Regions from separate parts of the Homo sapiens genome. Here regions 2, 3, 4, 5, 6 and 7 are each linked to region 1. The links are contacts of gene promoters, found by promoter capture Hi-C in blood cells and fetal thymus (Javierre and others, 2016). All regions are on one chromosome and are shown on one strand. Each heading gives the region's core, a stretch centred on a gene start or on the middle of the fragment in contact. The rest is flanking DNA. Distances are from core to core; before and after follow the strand shown.

Region 1 (2,535 bases), core at 23-2,522:
AAGTTACCAATTAAGGTTTAATTATTATCAACACCCATGCCCAAGGACACATCCTATACACTCTTGGTTGAGGTGAACATCTCTGTAAAAGAAAAAACCGGCCCGGCGCGGTGGCTCACACCTGTAATTCCAGCACTTTGGGAGGCCGAGGCAGGCGGATCACTTAGGACCACAGGTTCGAGACCAGCCTGGCCAACATGGTGAAACCCCGTCTCTACTAAAAATACAAAAATTAGCCGGGCATGGTGACGCATGCCTGTAATCCCAGCTACTCCGGAGCTGAGGACAGAGAATCGCTTGAACCCAGGAGGCGGAGGTTGCAGTGAGCCAAGATCGCGCCACTGCTGCACTCCAGCCTGGGAGACAGAGCAAACCTCATTCTCAAATAATAACAATAATAAAAACAGACTAACAAAATAAATAACTTTTTTTTAAAAAGAGAAAAGCCAAAGACCACTCGTGTAGACAGCTTTGTCCTCAGTAGCCAAGTCCCTCCCTGCAGCTCTTTTAGAAAAGTCAGGCTGGGGAAGGAGAAAGCTGTCAAACACTCTGCGTCGCCGTCCCGGATACAAGTTAAATGCTCCTCTCCCTTCGTGAAACGTGGATGCAACCCACGCCTTCCTAAAAAGAGGTCAGAGGCGTCCGGGATCATCCAGAGCCCTGCCGGGCTCCAAGAGAAGGGCCGGAGCAGCTGGAGCTCTGACCCCACCCGGGCACCTGACCACTTCGCGGGAAATTAACAGGACACCAAGTGACAGGAGCTGTTAAGTCTTTGTTTTATACCACAACTTTCAACTCCTAAAACAATTCTATCAGGATGGTCCTGAAATCCTCATTTAAAAAACGGCAATGGGAGGTACAGGGAGATTAAGTAACACCCCACGTTATATCGCGAGAAAGAGGTCGCACACTTAAGAGTGGAGGGAGGCGGACTGAACGAGGTCAAACACCTGGAAAACCCTCTAAACAGGCACACAAGACTAGACAGAGTTCTTCCCCGCCCCCCCCGAACCCCCGACGACTCCTCCGGTGGACCTGAGTACAGCCCCCAACGCCAGAAGGCTCCATCGACGGCAACGAAACTTCCCTCCCACCCCTCGCATCTCCAAACCTCAGGTCTTCTCCAGGGCTTCTTACCCCCTTAGTTGACCCCCCAGGTCGTTAGGCGCCCCTAATAACTGGTTCACTTTCGCAAAGACCCGCAAGACACATACTTGGCTCAAACCACCTTGTTAAGTAGCAGTGTCCTGCTCGGAGACCGGAAGTGTCGATGATGCCACAGGCGTCTGGACTACACTTCCCAGAATCCCCCGAATCCGCCTGCCTGAGCCAAAGTTCCCACGACTCCACAGAGCAAATGGACTCCACTTCCCAGAATTCACAGGTCCTCCTGCCTGGGCCAAAATTCCCACGCCTCCCAAGCTACTCGCGAAACGCCTGCGGGAGCCAAATTTCCTGCGCATCGACCGGGCAATTAGACTCCCGCAGGCGTTTCGCTGGTATCTTGGGAAATGGAGTCCATTTGCTCTGTGGAGGCGTGAGAATTTTGGCTCAGGCAGGTGGACCTGTGAATTCTGGCCTATCAACCTATATTTTTATTTTAAAAAAATGGAGTCTCATGTTCTATATCAATTTTTCTAAACTAAAAAAGAATACTTTTCATGGTTTTCTTTAGATAAAGTGACTGTGCCAACCACAGTATGAGGAACACTTCTCTGAAAATTGAGTGACTGCTATTTCTAAACCAGTTACAGCTGTATCCTTGCTCTGTTCTGCCCTCCCAAGAGATAAAAATTTATTGACACGCTCAATCGTAGTAGGCAGGAAACTGTGCCTAATATATTAGGGTATATCTGGCATCAAAGGCCCTTTCTGTCCCCCAGGTCCTTGCACTCTGGGCCTGTGATGGGAGGAGAAGCTGCCATAATCTGTGAAATGCCTTTGGGGTCATTCTTCCATTGTCTTGGACAATAGGTCCTGGCTTCAGTTGACATGGCCAATCCATACTAAATTCATGAATTAGTTAGTTGCTTAACCATACCCTTGTATTCTTCAGGTTTCCTGTTTTTTTTTTTTTCCAAAGTAGATAGGCTGTAAACTTTTAAAAATTTTAGTTCTGTTTCCCTTTTAATTAATAATTATTTCAGTCATTCCTCACTTCGTGCCTTTCACTACGGGTAGTCAAGATGATTCAAGCAACTTCAACACTTTGATTAGAAATTAATTCAGATAAACAATTATATCATTCACAAATTCTACCTTCCATAAAACACTAGCACCTGAATATAATTCAGCCAAATTCTTTGTCCCTTTATAACAAGAAGCTCTCTTCTCTTCCAATAACATGTTCAACATTTCTGACTGAGGTCTTCAGAATGGCCTTTACTGTCCATATTTCTACCAACATTCTGATCATGACTACCTAGGTATGCTCTAACAAGATTGATGTTTTCTCTACAGTTCTTATTCTCTATTTCTGAGCGCTAACCAGAATTGTCCTTATCAGTCCATTCATGGCAATGTAGGCTTTTCCTA
Region 2 (2,535 bases), core at 20-2,519, 500 kb before region 1:
GACTGGGCAGCCAGGCAGAGGGGCTCCTCACATCCCAGACAATGGGCAGCCAGGCAGAGACGCTCCTCACTTCCCAGACGGGGTGGCAGCTGGGCAGAGGCTGCAATCTTGGCACTTTGGGAGGCCAAGGCAGGCAGCTGGGAGGTGGAGGTTGTAGCGAGCCGAGATCACGCCACTGCACTCCAGCCTGGGCACCATTGAGCACTGAGTGAACGAGACTCCGTCTGCAATCCCAGCACCTTGGGAGGCCGAGGCTGGCGGATCACTCAGGTTAGGAGCTGGAGACCAGCCCGGCCAACACAGCGAAACCCCGTCTCCACCAAAAAAATACGAAAACCAGTCAGGCGTGGCGGCGCACGCCTGCAATCGCGGGCACTCGGCAGGCTGAGGCAGGAGAATCAGGCAGGGAGGTTGCAGTGAGCCGAGATGGCAGCAGTACAGTCCAGCTTCGGCTCGGCATCAGAGGGAGACCGTGGAAAGAGAGGGAGAGGGAGACCGTGGAAAGAGAGGGAGAGGGAGACCGTGGAAAGAGAGGGAGAGGGAGAGGGAGACCGTGGAAAGAGAGGGAGAGGGAGACCGTGGAAAGAGAAGGAGAGGGAGACCGTGGAAAGAGAGGGAGAGGGAGACCGTGGAAAGAGAAGGAGAGGGAGACCGTGGAAAGAGAGGGAGAGGGAGACCGTGGGGAGAGGGAGAGGGAGAGGGCAAGGGCGAGGGCGAGGGCGTCAAGTTTATTTTTAAAAGTAGTCTGGGCACGGTGGCTCACGCCTGTAATCCCAGCACTTTGGGAGGCCAGTGTGGGCAGATCACAAGGTCAAGAGGTCAAGACCATCCTGGCCAACATGGTGAAACCCCATCTCTACAAAAAATACAAAAATTAGCTGGGCGTGGTGATGTGCGCCTGTAGTCCCAGCTACTTAGGAGGCTGAGGCAGGAGAGTCACTTGAACCCCGGAGGTGGAGGTTGCAGTGAGTTGAGATCATGCCACTGCACTCCAGCCTGGGGACAGCGCGAGACTCTGTCTCAAAACCAAAACCAAAACAAACAAACAAACAAAAAAGTAAAAGAATAAGGAATGGCTACTCCATAAGCAGAGCAGCCCCAGGGGCTTCTGGTTGCCCATTTTTATGGTTATTTCTTGATTTTCTGCTAAACAAGGGGTGGATTATTCATGAGTTTTCCAGGACTGGGGTGGGCAATTCCCAGAACTGAGGGTTCCTCTCCTTTTTAGACCATAGAGGGTAACTTCCTGACAAAACTGTCATGGCGCTGAGACCAGCAGTTTGAGACCAGTCTGGGCAACATGACGAGACCCTGTCTTCTACAAAAAATAAAAAGGCAGTTTAACTGTTGTAGTATGTGTGGTAGTAATGCAAGCAACACAACCTCTTGGCTTTCACATTGGGCCTTCTTTACATTGCAGCAGCTCTGGCTCTTTGATACTTATTGTGAACCTCACAACCTACCCAGTAAATATACAGTGGTGTTTTTAGGTTTGGAGAATCCTTTCCTACCTTTAAATACATTAATGCTAGCCATTTTTAATAACCATTCCTACTGTAATAGTAAAATATTTTCTAGATAGATAAGGAGAAAAAATTGACACACTTATACCTTGACCTCTCCACATCAAGTGATCCTCCCATCTTTGCCTCCCAAGTAGCTGGGACTGTAGGCACATACCACCGTGCCTGGCTTATTTATTTATTTATTTATTTATTATTTTTTGAGATGGAGTCTCACTCTCTTGCCCAGGCTGGAGTGAAGTGGCATGGTCTCAGCTTGCTGCAAACTCCAACTTCCGGTTCAGGTGATTCTCATGCCTTAGCCTCCCAAGTAGCTGGGACTACAGGTATACCACACCTAGCTAATTTGTATTTTTTTGTATTTTTAGTAGAGATGGGGTTTCGCCATGTTGACCAGGCTGGTCTCGAACTCCTGAGTTCAGGCAATCTGCCCACCTCGGCCTCCCAAAGTGCTAGAATTACAGGTGTGAGCCACCATGCCCGGCCTATTTTATATATTTTGTATAGACAGGGGAGCCTCACTGTGTTGCTGAGGCTGGGCTCGAACTCCTGGGCTCAAGTGATCCTTCCACCTCAGCCTCCCAAAGCACTGTGATTACAGGTATGAACTGCTGCACCTGGCCACTTTTATTTTCTTTTAGTTTTTGATCCAATGGCTTCTAAAGAAATGAGTTATCAAAAATTAGCAGTAGTTGCTTTTCAGTGTTTGATTTGAGGAGGAGCAAAGTATCCTTGAATGGGCTATCATTTAACAGACTGAATTATTGTATCCTGTAGGAAAAAACCTGAGGACACTACAAAGGAATTGCGTTGTTTCAAGGTGATTTTTAAAGAGGGAAGCACCTTTCCTGGTTTCCAAATATTTAATTAAAATAAGTGGTTTTGAAAAACATGGATGCAGCATTAAAAGAGAGACAGTGAACCTGCTCCTCAGTTCTACCCCTTCAAAGAATAACTCCTTTTAATGCTTTTGAGAACATCTTTCCAGATTTTTCCGTGCATATTTATATTT
Region 3 (2,535 bases), core at 23-2,522, 420 kb before region 1:
ACAAATAAGCATGTAGGAAATTTAAATAGCACAGTTAGCAAGTCTGGGGAAAATATAAATGTATGCATATCCATCTGATAGAGAAGACACATTGTTTTCCAACAGACACAGATGTCACAAAAATTAACCTTGTATTAGGTCAAAAATAAAAATGTTCCTGAACTCGTTTTTTAAAATTCAAGTATGTCAAATTAAATCAAGTAATCCTTCAACTTAGAGCAATATATAAGAACATCAAACATGTAAACATCAAAAGACAGAGATAAGCCAAAACAATTGCACTGTCCCTTTATGTGCCCTAAGCTGCGATGTCAAGCTATAGTTGGATATTATTCAACCATTTCCTGCCCATTGCGTAGAGGTGGGGGTCTTCACTTCTCTATCTAGTCTAGGACTGGAACCGCCTCACCACCCCTACAGCTTGAGGGTGCGTGGAAAAGGGAATGCCAGCCAGATATTCCAAACAGAGACTCTGCCAGCAGGACCAGGTGACCTTTCCTAGGAGACAGATTGTTCTCACACGTTATCAGGGCTTTCCTCCAGGCTAAAACTGTGGGCCTCTAATGGAATTCCTATTCAATTTTCTTACCCCATTTAGGGTACCCAAATTTTTCTTTAATAGAAATCTTAAATCTTAAATGCAATAACATGAAGTAAAATAAAGCCTAAGTCTCAACAAGGGCAAATTTTCAAAAAGAATCTGAAAACTTCCCGCGTTTTCTTGTTATGTTGTAATGTGTCTCTTTTAGGACACTCTCAGTACTCCTGCAATTCCCCTGTTAAGGATTCAGACAATAGTTGTTAATTCCTTCTGCTTCTTCTGAGACTAGGAAATAAATTACAGGGCTATGTTATATCGCAAGTGTAGATTATCCAGAGTTTTCATCAACAGAAATAAAACATGGTGGGGGGCGGGGAGGGAATTATTTAAGTGAGTGTTAATTGAAAAGTTTCGTGGTTTTAACGTTAAAAGACATGCCTATAAAATAAGAACTTATAAAAGTCTTCACTAAAACGGTAAAGTGCCCATTTCCAAGTAGTAAAATATTGAAACTTCTTTTCATCGTTGATAGTGATTTATTTAACATTTCATTATTTTATCGTTATTATGATTGTCGTTATTTTAGACGAATGCACGGAAGTCAAAGGACTTCCAAATGCACGGAAGTCAAAGGCCACCTTCACCAGGGTAGCCTTGCGAATGGCCACTGCTGCGCGCGGGGCTTTCTGGGGATTGTAGGCCATAGGCCTCCTTGCGCATGCGCCATGGTACTGGACGCACGCTGCGGGCGACATTGTTTGGGACGCTGGGGTGAGTCCCGTCTGTACCGCGCCCCTCTTGGAGGCGTAGCCAGGAGTAGGAGTGTAGGATGTGCAGCTGTGACCCGTCCCTGTGGACTGAAGTAGGAGGAGTGGAAGAGGGGACTGGTAACCAATGATAAGGCCTCGTAGGTGGGGTAGACTAGGGAAGTTCAGCGGCCCGACCTACCCGGGATAGGATGGGAAGAGCGTGGGCTCGAGCGTGGGCTCGGTTTGGGGAGCAGCCCTGGGTTTGACAAAACAGTGCATCTTCACGTTTCGTGACAGCGACTTGCGCTGTGCCTCCTCGGGTCGAAGCTTAGGGTCAGTCTTGGGATGTGCATCTCTGGATGAGGGCAGAGGGGCGCTGGCTCAGGGTTTTGGAGTAATGGCTGGACTGTGCGTCCCTGAATGGGATGAGGGATTTGCTTAAGCAGCTAGTCTCTGGATATAGAGGATGGCTTCGGCTGTTCTCGCTCAGTTTGGTGGGGGCGATTCTGGCTCAGCACCCCTAGGTTCTTGGATGGGGAGTTGTCTTGGGTCTGAACTCTGGATTTTGGCAGCTCTGACTCCATTGGGGCATTTATGACTTCAAGGCAGAGGTTCTGGCTTTTGGCAATAAAGAAACAACTCAGACTGTAATACTGTAATAACTCCAGAGTTTAATGTCACCGAATACATTTTGAAAAGAACTGTCCCAGGCCTGGCGCGGTGCCTCACGCCTGTAATCCCAGCACTTTGGGAGGCCAAAGTGGGCGGATCACGAGGTCAGGAGATCGAGACCATCCTGGCTAACACGGTGAAACCCCGTCTCTACTACAAAAAACAATTACAAAAAATTAGCCGGGCACGGTGGCAGGCGCCTGTAGTCCCAGCTACTCGGGAGGCTGAGGCAGGAGAATGGCGTGAACCCGGGAGGCGGAGCTTGCAGTGAGCTGAGATCACGCCACTGCACTCCAGCCTGGGCGACAGAGCCAGACTCTGTCTCAAAGAAAAAAGAAAAGAAAAGAACTGCCCCAAATTATTAACTCCATTCTCACCTCACATGCTGTGAGCCAGGGAGTAGGGACTTTGAGTATTATAAAGCACATTAGCAAATATAAGTTGTTAAATTACACTCAACAAATTTGAAGTTTGAACACTCTCTGTATATTTGATAAAGTTAGAGATTTAGTGTTAATTATTTTAGGTGTAATAGCAGCATTTATTACATTTCTGATCGTGTTTCTGGGCAAT
Region 4 (2,535 bases), core at 13-2,512, 370 kb before region 1:
AAATTCCGGGAATTGTCCAGAAGATCCACAGGGTCAGAGACACACGCGCCAGGAAAGGCGCCTTTCATGCACGGTCCGCTGGGTAAAACAGAGAAATATATATACGAGCTCTCTGTCTTTGGAAGCATTTCGGTTCCAGGAAGGGGGAGTTAAGGAATTCCTTTGGGACCGGCACATGTGAAATATCATCCAGGCTCTCAGCTTGGCACCCGGTACTTGCGTCCTAGGCAGGCAGATAAGTGGAGAGTTTTTCTAGGAATTCTGGGAAATGTAGTTTGGGAGCCCCGTGTAGTCGGGTAACTTCCGCTCTAGGAGGCTGAGGCCGTCTCCCTGATCCCGTCGGGAATTCTGGGAAGCGTAGTCCAGGAGGTCTCGGTAGGCAGAGCCACTTCCGCCCCAGGTACGCTAGGCCGCGGCCTTCGTTCCTCCCAGAAAGGTGAGCGCTCCCCGCCCTGCTTCCTGCTCCTTCCGTCCATACTGATGTTCGTTTTGTTGGGGTCCAGTAGCAACCGGGCAGTAGCTCTAGGGGAGGATAATCCACTTGCGGCGAAGGGCGGGATTTGTGTTATCTTTGAATGAGCCTTCTCCAGTGTGGGGCAGCTGGCGCATCCCCACTTAGCGCCGGGGGTCCAAGATCCTACATCGCAGGGACTGGGGATCTCCTGGGTTCTGTACTTCCCCAGCCCTTTCCCCTGACCATCAACCAGCTCTGCCACTTCCTAGCAGTATAATAACAGGCGAGTATCTTAATCTCTCTGCCTATGTTTCTTTTTCTTTAAAATGGTACTAGTATCTATCTAATGGAGTTCTTTTGAGAGTTAAATAAAAAGACTTGGAACAGAGCCTGACAGGTGGTAGAAGATGGGTCTCTTGTTATTAGCACTTTTTAATTTTCTGAGAAGGACTCAGTTCCCTGAAAGCTTCTGTGAACCCAGGATGGGGTCAGAGCTCCAGCTGCAGAGTATCCCTGGCCCTTTTCTGATCACTGAGAGATTTTTCTTTAGGACAGGATCACTCCTGGCTGTCTGGGTAGTCCATTGTAATTCATGCAGGAGTTCTGATTTCCCCCATCCTCCTTTCCTTCTTTAGCCTTGACTTCTTGAAAAAGGCTGCAGGGAGAAGGAGGGAATGACCCTTTGGCACTTGGCAGCGGAGTCTCACCTGAGTAGTACTTATCATCCTTTCTTTTCAGGGAAGACGATATTTCCATCATTCACTGGCAAATTCTGCTCGAAGATGCGCTGATATTTGTTCAATAAATGCAGAAACGGATGAGGGAGTACTTGGGCATGAGTAATAAAGATAGTATTTAAACATTTAGTGCTGATCATTCTAAGAGTTTGATATGAATTAACATCTTTAATCCTCACAAGAGCCCTTTGAGCCTGGGTTGGGTACCACCATTCCCATTTTAAAGATAAGCAAACAGACATAGAGCATAGGTGGTTTATCTTTAGGTCACCCAGGTGGTAAGAGCCTGAGCTGGGATTTGAATTCAAATAGTTTCCATCCATTGCCTTAGTTCTTGATGTGTTTAGTATCAGCTTCAGAACACATATTTGGATTTTACTAGAGGACCGTGAAAGCAAGGTTAATAAGCTTTGAATTTTTGATTTTTTAAAATTATCTGTAATTTAATTTTATTTGAAATATTTATAGTTCATATTCTGATTATATAAATTATTGCATATTGTAAAAGATTAAGAAAGTATAGAAAGTGTAAAAGAAAAAAATTATGCTAACCACAAGATATAACAGTAACAATATTAATATTTCAATGTTTTCCTCTTCCAGTAGACTTCTTTTTGGATTTTCACCCATGTTTAACCAAATAGGCTTCATAGCTTTTATTTTTCCCTTAAGTTTTTACTATGGAAATTTGTAAGCATAGCCAAATGTAATATGACTAAAATAATTCTGTGGAAGCGTCACCCAGCTTCAACCTTTGTTAACATTTGCCAGTCTTGTATCAACTCCCTGTCCCTTTTTTTTTTGTTTCAGTATTTTAAAGCAAATCTCTAACATCGACTTAGTATAATATCGTTTGATTGATTGTCATAATTGCCAAACGTTGATGATCATAAATTGCTTATATCCAAGACTTTGAAAGGGAAATGCCAGCAGCTACTCTAAGGTTTTCATTCGTTGAAGCTTACAGAATGGTCCTTACTTGAGGAAGCTAGGGGATGCAAGAGAATTGTACCTTGGAGAAGGATGGTGATGAATTTTGTGTTCCAGTATAGAGTTTGCCTTGCCTAAGTCTTATAGCTCTTTGTTTCTTATTTCTCTTTATCTAAATCCATACACTGAAAGTTCTTCTATTTCTGGGACCATGTCATACTTTTCTCCATGTGCCCAGCACATCGTACAAGGTTGTTAAGGGTTTATGGTTAGAGTAGCTACTCAACAGACAGCTGGCATCAAGGATTTGCAGTGTGGAATTGGAATTAGGTATCAAAATAGAATAGAAATAACCCCTGGATATATTCCTTAATCTCACTTAATATTGGTAGGTTATATAATCCACCAACTATT
Region 5 (2,535 bases), core at 22-2,521, 350 kb before region 1:
GATTCAGGGTCCTACATGGTACCCTTGAGAGTAGGAGTTAAACTTTTTCTCTAAAGGTCCAAGTAGTAAATACTTTAGATTTTCCTGGCCACATGTGCTCTTTGTCACAGTCTTTGTTTTTCTTACACCACTTTAAAAATGTAGAAAGCGTTCTTGGCTCCTGGGTTGTACAGAAACAGGCCGAGGCCATGCTGTGCCAGTCTACCTTCCTGATACTGTCAGCTGGAACATAATGTCACCTTTTAAAATACCTTAATTTTTTTACCTATACTAACATGATCATATACCTCATATTAATGTAAAAATTTGTTATGTACATTCTTGTTTTTAATATACTAATTTTTCTTCTTTGCCGTTACCTTGGGGAAATCCCTCCCAGTCTAAGATTATAACTCTTGTTTTTGTAATGGATGCATAATACTCTAATAAACAAACTAGTTACTTCCAAGATACAATGGGGCTACAGCCTTTGGGTAAATGCCCCCATTCTGAAAGGGAGAAATCAGGCAAAACAAAGGGGCTGCAGGCCCCATGCCAATCTGAAACCCAGCAGGGCAGTCATTAAATCTCAGAGTTCGAAAATAATCTCCTTTGACTCCATGTCTCACATCCAGGCATGCTGATGCAAGGGATGAGCTCCCAAGGCCTTGGGCATCTCTGCCTCTGTGGCTCTGCAGGGTATAGCCCACTTGGCTATTTTCATGAGCTGGCGTTGAGTGCCTGCATCTTTTCCAGGCACGTGGTGGAAGCTGTTGGTGGGTCTGGGGTCTGGAGGACGGTGGCCCTCTTCTCACAGCTCCACTAGGCAATGCCTCAGTGGGGACTCTGGGGGCTCCAACCCCACATTTCCCTTCTCCATTGACCTAGTAGAGGTTCTCCATGAGGGCTCCACCCCTGCAGCAGACTTCTGCCTGGACATCCAGGTGTTTCTATAAATCCTCTGAAATCTGGGCAGAGGTTCCCAAGCCTCAGCTCTTGCCCTCTGCACACCACAGGCCCAACAGTACGTGGAAGCTGCCAAGGCTTGGGGTTTGCACCCTCTGAAGCAATGGCCTGAGCTATACCTTGGCCCCTTTTAGCCATGGCTGGAACTGGAGCAGCTACAATGCAGGGTGCCGTGTCCTTCAGCTGTAGAAAACAGCAGGGCCCTGGGCCTGAGCCACAGAACTATTTTTCCCTCCTAGGCCTTCAGGCCTGTGGTAGGAGGGACTGTCATGACTGGCTCTGAAATGCCCTGGAGGCATTTTCCCCATTTTCTTGGCTATTAACATTCAGCTCCTCTTTACTTAGGCACATTTCTGCAGCCTTGAATTTCTCCCCAGAAAATTGGTTTTTCTTTTCTACCACATGATCAGGCTGCAAATTTTTCAAATTTTTATGCTCTGCTTCTTTTTTAAATATAAGTTCCAGTTTCAGATAATCTCTTTGCCCATAAATATGAGCATATGCTGTTAGAAGCAGCCAGACCACATCTTGAATGCTTTGCTGCTTAGAAATTTATTCCACCAGATAACCTAAATCATCCCTATCAAGTTCAAAGTTCCACAGATCTTTGGAGCAGAGGCATAATGCTGCCAGTCTCTTTGCTAAAGCATAGCACCAATGTTGGGAAAATGTATAAATGCATTTACAAACCTAAATATATCTAAATATATCACCAGTTCCAGTCCCCAATAACTTCCTCATCTCCATCTGAGACCACCTCAGCCTGGACTTCACTGTCCATATCACTATCCGTATTTTGTTCAAAACCATGTAACAATTCTCTAGGAGATTCCAAACTTTCCCTCATCTTCCTGTCTTCTTCTGAACCCTCCAAATTATTACAACCTCTGCCCATTACCTGTTTCCAAAGTGACTTCCACGTTTTCAGGTATCTTTATAGCAATGCCCCACTTTTCTGGTACCAATTTTCTTTATTCGTCCATTCTCCCATTGCTGTAAAGAACTACCTGAGACCAGGTAATTTATAAAGAAAAGAGGTTTAATTGACTCATGGTTCCATAGGCTATACAGGAAGCATGGCTGGGGAGGCCTCAGGAAACTTATAAATATGGCAGATGGTGAAGGGGAAGGAGGCATGTTTTACATGGCAGAGAAAGAGGAAGAGAAAGAGGGCAGGAAGTGCTACATGCTTTCAAACAACCAGATCTCTTGAGAACTCTGTCACGAGACAGCACTTGGGGGATGGTGCTAAACCATTAGAAAGCACCCCCATGATCCAATCACCTCCCACCAGGCCTCAACTCCAACACTGGGAATTACAATTCAACATGAGATTTGGGTGGGGACGCAGAGCGAAACCATATCAGTGGTTAAGAAAGGAGTCAGCACAGCAGCTTAAATATTTGTGATCAAAACATTGTCACCACTATACCTTGTATTGTCTCTATCTAAAAGCGAAGTAAGAACGGAAGGTGATCTCAGCCTGGGTAACCTGAGCTGATGTTCTCGCTTAGCTTTTATTAAAGAAGAAGAAGAAGAAGACATAAACAAAGATTTTTTTTCTCTGAGTTCATTATAGCTAACTATTAA
Region 6 (2,535 bases), core at 19-2,518, 310 kb before region 1:
AGCACTGTTTTTGCAGTGGATTCGTTTTCATTTATCCCAAGATATTTTCTAGTTTCCCCTGTGATTTCTTCTTTGATCTATTGGTTGTATGTGTATTGTTGAATTTTCACATATTTATGGAATTTTCAGGTTTTATTCTGCTATTCATTGCTAGTTTCATTTCATTTTGATCAGCAGAGATACTTTGTGTGATTTTAATATTTTTATATTTATTAAGGCTTTTTTGTAGTTTAACATATGGTGTATCCTAGAAAATGTTCTGTATGTACTTCAGAAAAATGTGTATTCTGCTGTTATTGGGTGGAGTGTTCTGTATAATCATAGTCTACGTGTATATATTTGTTAGGTCCATATACTTCAAAAATGTATAAAACATAGAAAATTGATTAATTCTAAAATTGCTTATGTCCTTTGTTAAGATATCATCTAATCCACCAAACTGAGGGAGATATGTGACAAAAATGACTTAGTAGGATGCCATTTGTAATCCCACCATTCAGTTCAGTTTTAACATTCATTTTACATCTTTTTCTGTTAATGAAAATTGACTGATAGTTTAAATGGATAATTTCTGCTTCTCCACCCTTCCCCCAACATACACATAATTTGGATGACCTATTTGTTTTCCTATGACTTTAAACTTTTTATTTTGAAAACTTAAAAAACATAGAAAAGTAAATAATGCCATAGACTCTGTATATCCATACTGTCTTAGCAGTTATCAACTTTCTGCTGTTCCTGTTTTATCTTTCCCTTTTATTTTTTGCTGGAGAATGTCATATCACCCATAGATTTATCAGTGTCTATCTACAACAGTAACTCCTTATTGTCACTTACTATCCATTTTATAATCAGTATGGGCTCATATGTATTTATTTATACTTCGTGTTATAATCCAGTATTGCATTGTTTATTTTGTTACCAAGTTATTTCTACTTTGACCACTTGGAGCTTTTTCAGGTTGCCTCCTGTGGTTGAAATCACCAGTGATTTCTAGAAATGCAAATTAAAACAATGGTGAGATATCATCTTATACCAGCCAGAATGGCTATTATTAGAATCTGTTATGGATCTCTGGAGATCTCAGGTAATGAACTCAAGATGGATTAAATAGCACCATTTATTCAATAGGATGTCCTTTCCCCAGTGTATGTTTTTTTCGACTTTATCAAAGATCAGTTGGCTGTAGGTATGTGACTTATTTCTGGGTTCTCTTTTCTATTCCATTGATCTGTGTATCTATTTTTATATCAGTACGATGCTGTTTTGGTTACTATAGCCATGTAGTGTAATTTGAAGTCAGGTAATGTAATGCCTCCAGCTTTGTTATTTGCTTAGGATTGCTTTGTCTATTCAGGCTCTTTTTTGGTTCCATATGAATTTTAGAATTGTTTTTCCTCATTCTGCAAAAAATGACATTAGTATTTAGATAGCCATTGCATTGAATTTGTAGATTGCTTTGGGCAGTATGGTCTTTTTAACAATATTGATTCTGCCGATCCATGAACATGGGATGTTTTTCCATTTTTTTTATGTCATCTACAACTTCTTTCATTATTGTTTCATAATTTTCCTTGGTTAGATCTTTCCCTTCCTTGGTTAAATACATTCCTAGGTATTTTAATTTTTTTGTAGATACTATAAATTGGATTGTGTTCTTGATTTGGTTTTTAGCCTGATCATTATTGTCGTATAGAAATGCTACTGACTTTTGTATATTGATTTTTTTTAATCCTGAAACTTTATTGAAGTCATTTGTCAAATCTAGGATTCTTTTGGAGGAGTCTTTAGGGATTTGTAGGTATAAGATCAGATTGTCAGAAAACAGAGATATTAAATGACTTACTCTTTTCCAATTTAGATTGGTTTTCTGTCTTTCTCTTGCCTGATTACTTTGGCTAGGACTTCCAGTGGTACGTGAAATAGGAGTGGTGAAAGTGGGCAATCCTTGTTTTATTCCAGTTCTTAGGGGGAATGCTTTCAGCTTTTCCCCATTCAGTATGTTACCTATGGGTTGTCATATATGGCTTTTATTATTTTGAAATATGTTTCTTCTGTGCCTAGTTTGTCAAAGGTTTTTATCATGAGAGGATGCTGAATTTTGTCAAATGGTTTTTATATATCTGTTGAGATGATCATGTGGTTTTTGTTTTTAATTCTGTTTATAGGCTGAATCACATTTATTGGTTTGTGTATGTTGAACCATTCTCGCATCCTTGGAATAAAACCCACTCGATCATGGTGGCTTATCTTTTTGATGTGCTATTAGATTTGGTTTGGGGGGTTTTGTGGGGGGATTTGTGTTTGTTTTTGGAGGATTTTTGCATCTACATTCATCAGGGATATTGCTCTGTAGTTTTCTTTTTTTGTTGTGTCTTTATCTGACTTTGGTATCAGAGCAAGAGTGGCTTTCTAGAATGAGTTAGGGAGGATTCTCTCCTCTTAGATTTTTTGAAAGAGTTTTAGTAGAATTGGTACCAGTTCTTTGTACCTTTTGTGGAATTCCAGTGTACCTTTGTCTGGTCCTGGGCTTTT
Region 7 (2,535 bases), core at 18-2,517, 290 kb before region 1:
TTCATCCAATTACTATGATTTGATCATTACACACTGCATAACGTGTAATGATGTCTGAGAAGTATGGGGTGTTGTCCAAAATGCTGTGTCCTTAACAGCTTAGTTTAACATCTAAAATGCATGCCATATGATATTCCCCTTTTTTGCAAAACCTTTCTCATGAAGCTTTATGGAACTAAAAACCAGTTGGGATTTTTTTCTTCATTCAGTCTGTTTCTATCACACTAGCTCCCAAAAAGAAAGATAGCAAAAGCCCCCGCCAAAGAAACATAGCACAGCTGTACACTGTATGGAAAAAGTCTTAAATAATCAGATAGAAACTTTGGCCTATTATACTGCTTGGAAAATGAAGCTGAACTGAGGACAGAAGCCAATTGCAAAAACATTACTCAGATTGTAGACTGCTTGGTTTTATGTGTTTTAATTAAATGTCATTTCCTTGAATTCATTTTAAGGCTTCTTGCAAGAATCCTTTTCCCAGTACAATTATAATGACGAATTGGGGCTGAGCTCACTAAAATATTCAAATATATGTCCTATATATGATAGATTTTTCCTATCAAGTTAAACAATTCCAGGGAAGCCACTATTTCTTAGGTACTTGTTCAAGGTCACGATCATGCAGCAGTAAACAATGTTCCTGCATGGAGCTTAGATTCTAGTGGACACAGATTTTGTCATGTCCCTCATTATACTTTTGCTAAATTCTGACCTTACTTATCATTTTGAAGGCTTCACTCCTGCATATTGCTTATTGGATGTGAAGGTTCTGATTGAAACATATTGTATCATTCTTTATAGGGTTTCTCTGTTGTGTGTTCTCTTGACAACTGTGACATTTTGGGCTCTGCTTGAAACTGGTCATATTCATACAAAAATAGGTTTTCTTCAATGGAATTCAGATAACTATAAAAACTCAGCTCATGAATTCTTAAAACATGACATTTTATAAATATTCTGTGCTGTGTGGATTTTCTGAGGAAAATGGGAAGTCTAAGTCTTGAAGAGCACCCCTATCACACTCATCATGATTAATAGATTCATCACCATCATGGACTCTCTGATGAATCTGAAGACAACGAACTCTTACTAAAGCCCTTACCACACACAAAACATTTGTATGGTTTCTCTCCAGTATGGACTCTCTGATGGGCTTGAAGATGTGAAGTCTGACTGAAGCTCTTACCACACATGCCACATTTATAGGGTTTCTCTCCCGTGTGGATCCTCTGATGAACATGAAGATATGAGTTCCAGATGAAGCCTTTCCTACATTCTTCACATTTGTATGGTTTCTCTCCTGTGTGGACTCTCTGATGGGCTTGAAGATGTGAACTCCAACTGAAGCCTTTCCCACACACATCACATTTGTAGGGATTCTCTCCAGTATGGACTTGCTGATGGTCTTGGAGATGCGAACTCTGACTAAAGCCCTTCCCACATGTCTCACATTTGTATGGCTTCTCTCCTTTGTGAACTCTCTGATGGGCCTGAAGATGAGAGATCTGACTGAAGTCCTTCCCACATGTGTCACATTTGTAGGGTTTCTCTCCTGTATGGACTCTCTGATGGGCCTGAAGGTGGGAATTACGGCTGAAGTTCTTATCACACACATCACATTTGTAGGGTTTCTCTCCAGTGTGGATTCTCTGATGGGCTTGAAGATTTGAGGCCTTACTGAAGCCCTTATCACATACCTCACATTTATATGGTTTCTCTCCAGTGTGAACTCTCTGGTGAAGACCAGAATTCCTATTAAATATCCTGTCACTTACTTCCCATTTGTATGTCTTGTCTCTAGAGTGACCTCTCTGATGGGCTTGAAGTTGTGATGTCTGACTGAAGCCTTTATCATATACATCACATTTACAGGCTCTCTCTCCAGCACTGTCTACACAGTGAATGTCAAAATCTAAGCTATGATGGAAGCCCTTCCCACACCTGCCACATGTACACAACTTCTCTCCTGGGTGAGTAAGCTCATGAGAGGGAAGACAGGAGTTCTGGTTGGAGCTCCGGGCATATACCTGACATCTGTAGAGGTTCTCTCCTGTGCTGACTCTCTGATGAGGTTGCAGATGTGAGCCCTGACTGAAGCCCTCACCACTGTCACCATTCCTATAGCATTTCTCTCCTATGTGGAAACACTGATGCCTGGGAAGCCCTGAGCTGTAACCTATGCCCTTCCCGTACTCAACATTTACATGAGGCTTGTCTCTTAAGTGTAGTTGCTGGTGAAGTTCAAGATTAGAGCCAACACTTAAGCCTTTTCCATTTTCATCAGAGGTTTGCTCTCCTGATTGGATTATGCTATGCTGGGATGATTCCTTCACACAGTCTTTTCCACAATTATTGTGGCTAAAAGCTTTCTCTCTTTTGTGTACTCCATGATCATCATGTTGATGAGCAATTCTTTGCCTAACACAATGATCACATTTACAGAGCTTATTTTTTACATCAATTTGCTGACACCTACTCTGATAATTCTGTGGTTCTCTCAGATACATTTTCCTCCAGAAATCCCAGGTGGTCCTC

What was found. Contacts are between HindIII fragments. The CHiCAGO score rates a contact against its expected background, and 5 or more counts as called.
Region 2: a contact is called between a fragment that was not itself captured here and the fragment with the promoter of ZNF155 in region 1, in 12 of 17 cell types (total B cells, monocytes, non-activated CD4 T cells and 9 more). The highest score is 11.3, in total B cells.
Region 3: the fragment with the promoter of ZNF285 here is called in contact with the fragment with the promoter of ZNF155 in region 1 in 11 of 17 cell types (erythroblasts, monocytes, total B cells and 8 more); the score reaches 8.6 in erythroblasts.
Region 4: a fragment that was not itself captured here is called in contact with the fragment with the promoter of ZNF155 in region 1 in 1 of 17 cell types (M1 macrophages); the score reaches 5.1 in M1 macrophages.
Region 5: a fragment that was not itself captured here is called in contact with the fragment with the promoter of ZNF155 in region 1 in 5 of 17 cell types (M2 macrophages, naive CD8 T cells, total CD4 T cells and 2 more); the score reaches 6.7 in M2 macrophages.
Region 6: a contact is called between a fragment that was not itself captured here and the fragment with the promoter of ZNF155 in region 1, in 8 of 17 cell types (naive CD8 T cells, total CD4 T cells, non-activated CD4 T cells and 5 more). The highest score is 7.3, in naive CD8 T cells.
Region 7: a fragment that was not itself captured here is called in contact with the fragment with the promoter of ZNF155 in region 1 in 5 of 17 cell types (total B cells, naive CD8 T cells, total CD4 T cells and 2 more); the score reaches 5.9 in total B cells.

Annotation. Positions count from the first base shown.
Region 1 is chr19:43,982,925-43,985,459 of GRCh38, reverse strand. ZNF155 (zinc finger protein 155) reads right to left here and starts at 1,272. Exons shown (of 5, transcript NM_198089.3): 1 at 1,215-1,272. RefSeq lists a silencer at 1,376-1,575. The HindIII fragment of the contact is 8,717 bases long and covers 1-2,535 here.
Region 2 is chr19:44,486,233-44,488,767 of GRCh38, reverse strand. The region is part of intron 2 of ZNF180 (zinc finger protein 180); the gene reads left to right. Among named protein-coding and RNA genes, the nearest start is that of ZNF180, 13 kb to the left of the region's middle. The HindIII fragment of the contact is 7,682 bases long and covers 1-2,535 here.
Region 3 is chr19:44,400,345-44,402,879 of GRCh38, reverse strand. It overlaps ZNF285 (zinc finger protein 285), which reads left to right and starts at 1,272. Exons shown (of 4, transcript NM_152354.6): 1 at 1,272-1,312. RefSeq lists an enhancer at 1,119-1,875. The HindIII fragment of the contact is 3,728 bases long and covers 1-1,619 here.
Region 4 is chr19:44,354,527-44,357,061 of GRCh38, reverse strand. It overlaps ZNF112 (zinc finger protein 112), which reads left to right and starts at 382. Exons shown (of 4, transcript NM_013380.4): 1 at 382-436. RefSeq lists an enhancer at 73-573. The HindIII fragment of the contact is 679 bases long and covers 923-1,601 here.
Region 5 is chr19:44,333,218-44,335,752 of GRCh38, reverse strand. The region is part of intron 3 of ZNF112 (zinc finger protein 112); the gene reads left to right. Among named protein-coding and RNA genes, the nearest start is that of ZNF112, 22 kb to the left of the region's middle. The HindIII fragment of the contact is 4,114 bases long and covers 1-2,535 here.
Region 6 is chr19:44,294,445-44,296,979 of GRCh38, reverse strand. All of the region lies in intron 4 of ZNF235 (zinc finger protein 235), which reads left to right. Among named protein-coding and RNA genes, the nearest start is that of ZNF235, 9.3 kb to the left of the region's middle. The HindIII fragment of the contact is 6,273 bases long and covers 1-2,535 here.
Region 7 is chr19:44,273,188-44,275,722 of GRCh38, reverse strand. It overlaps ZNF233 (zinc finger protein 233), which reads right to left. Exons shown (of 5, transcript NM_001207005.2): 5 at 406-2,535. The coding sequence ends at 1,050. Among named protein-coding and RNA genes, the nearest start is that of ZNF233, 15 kb to the right of the region's middle. The HindIII fragment of the contact is 2,200 bases long and covers 168-2,367 here.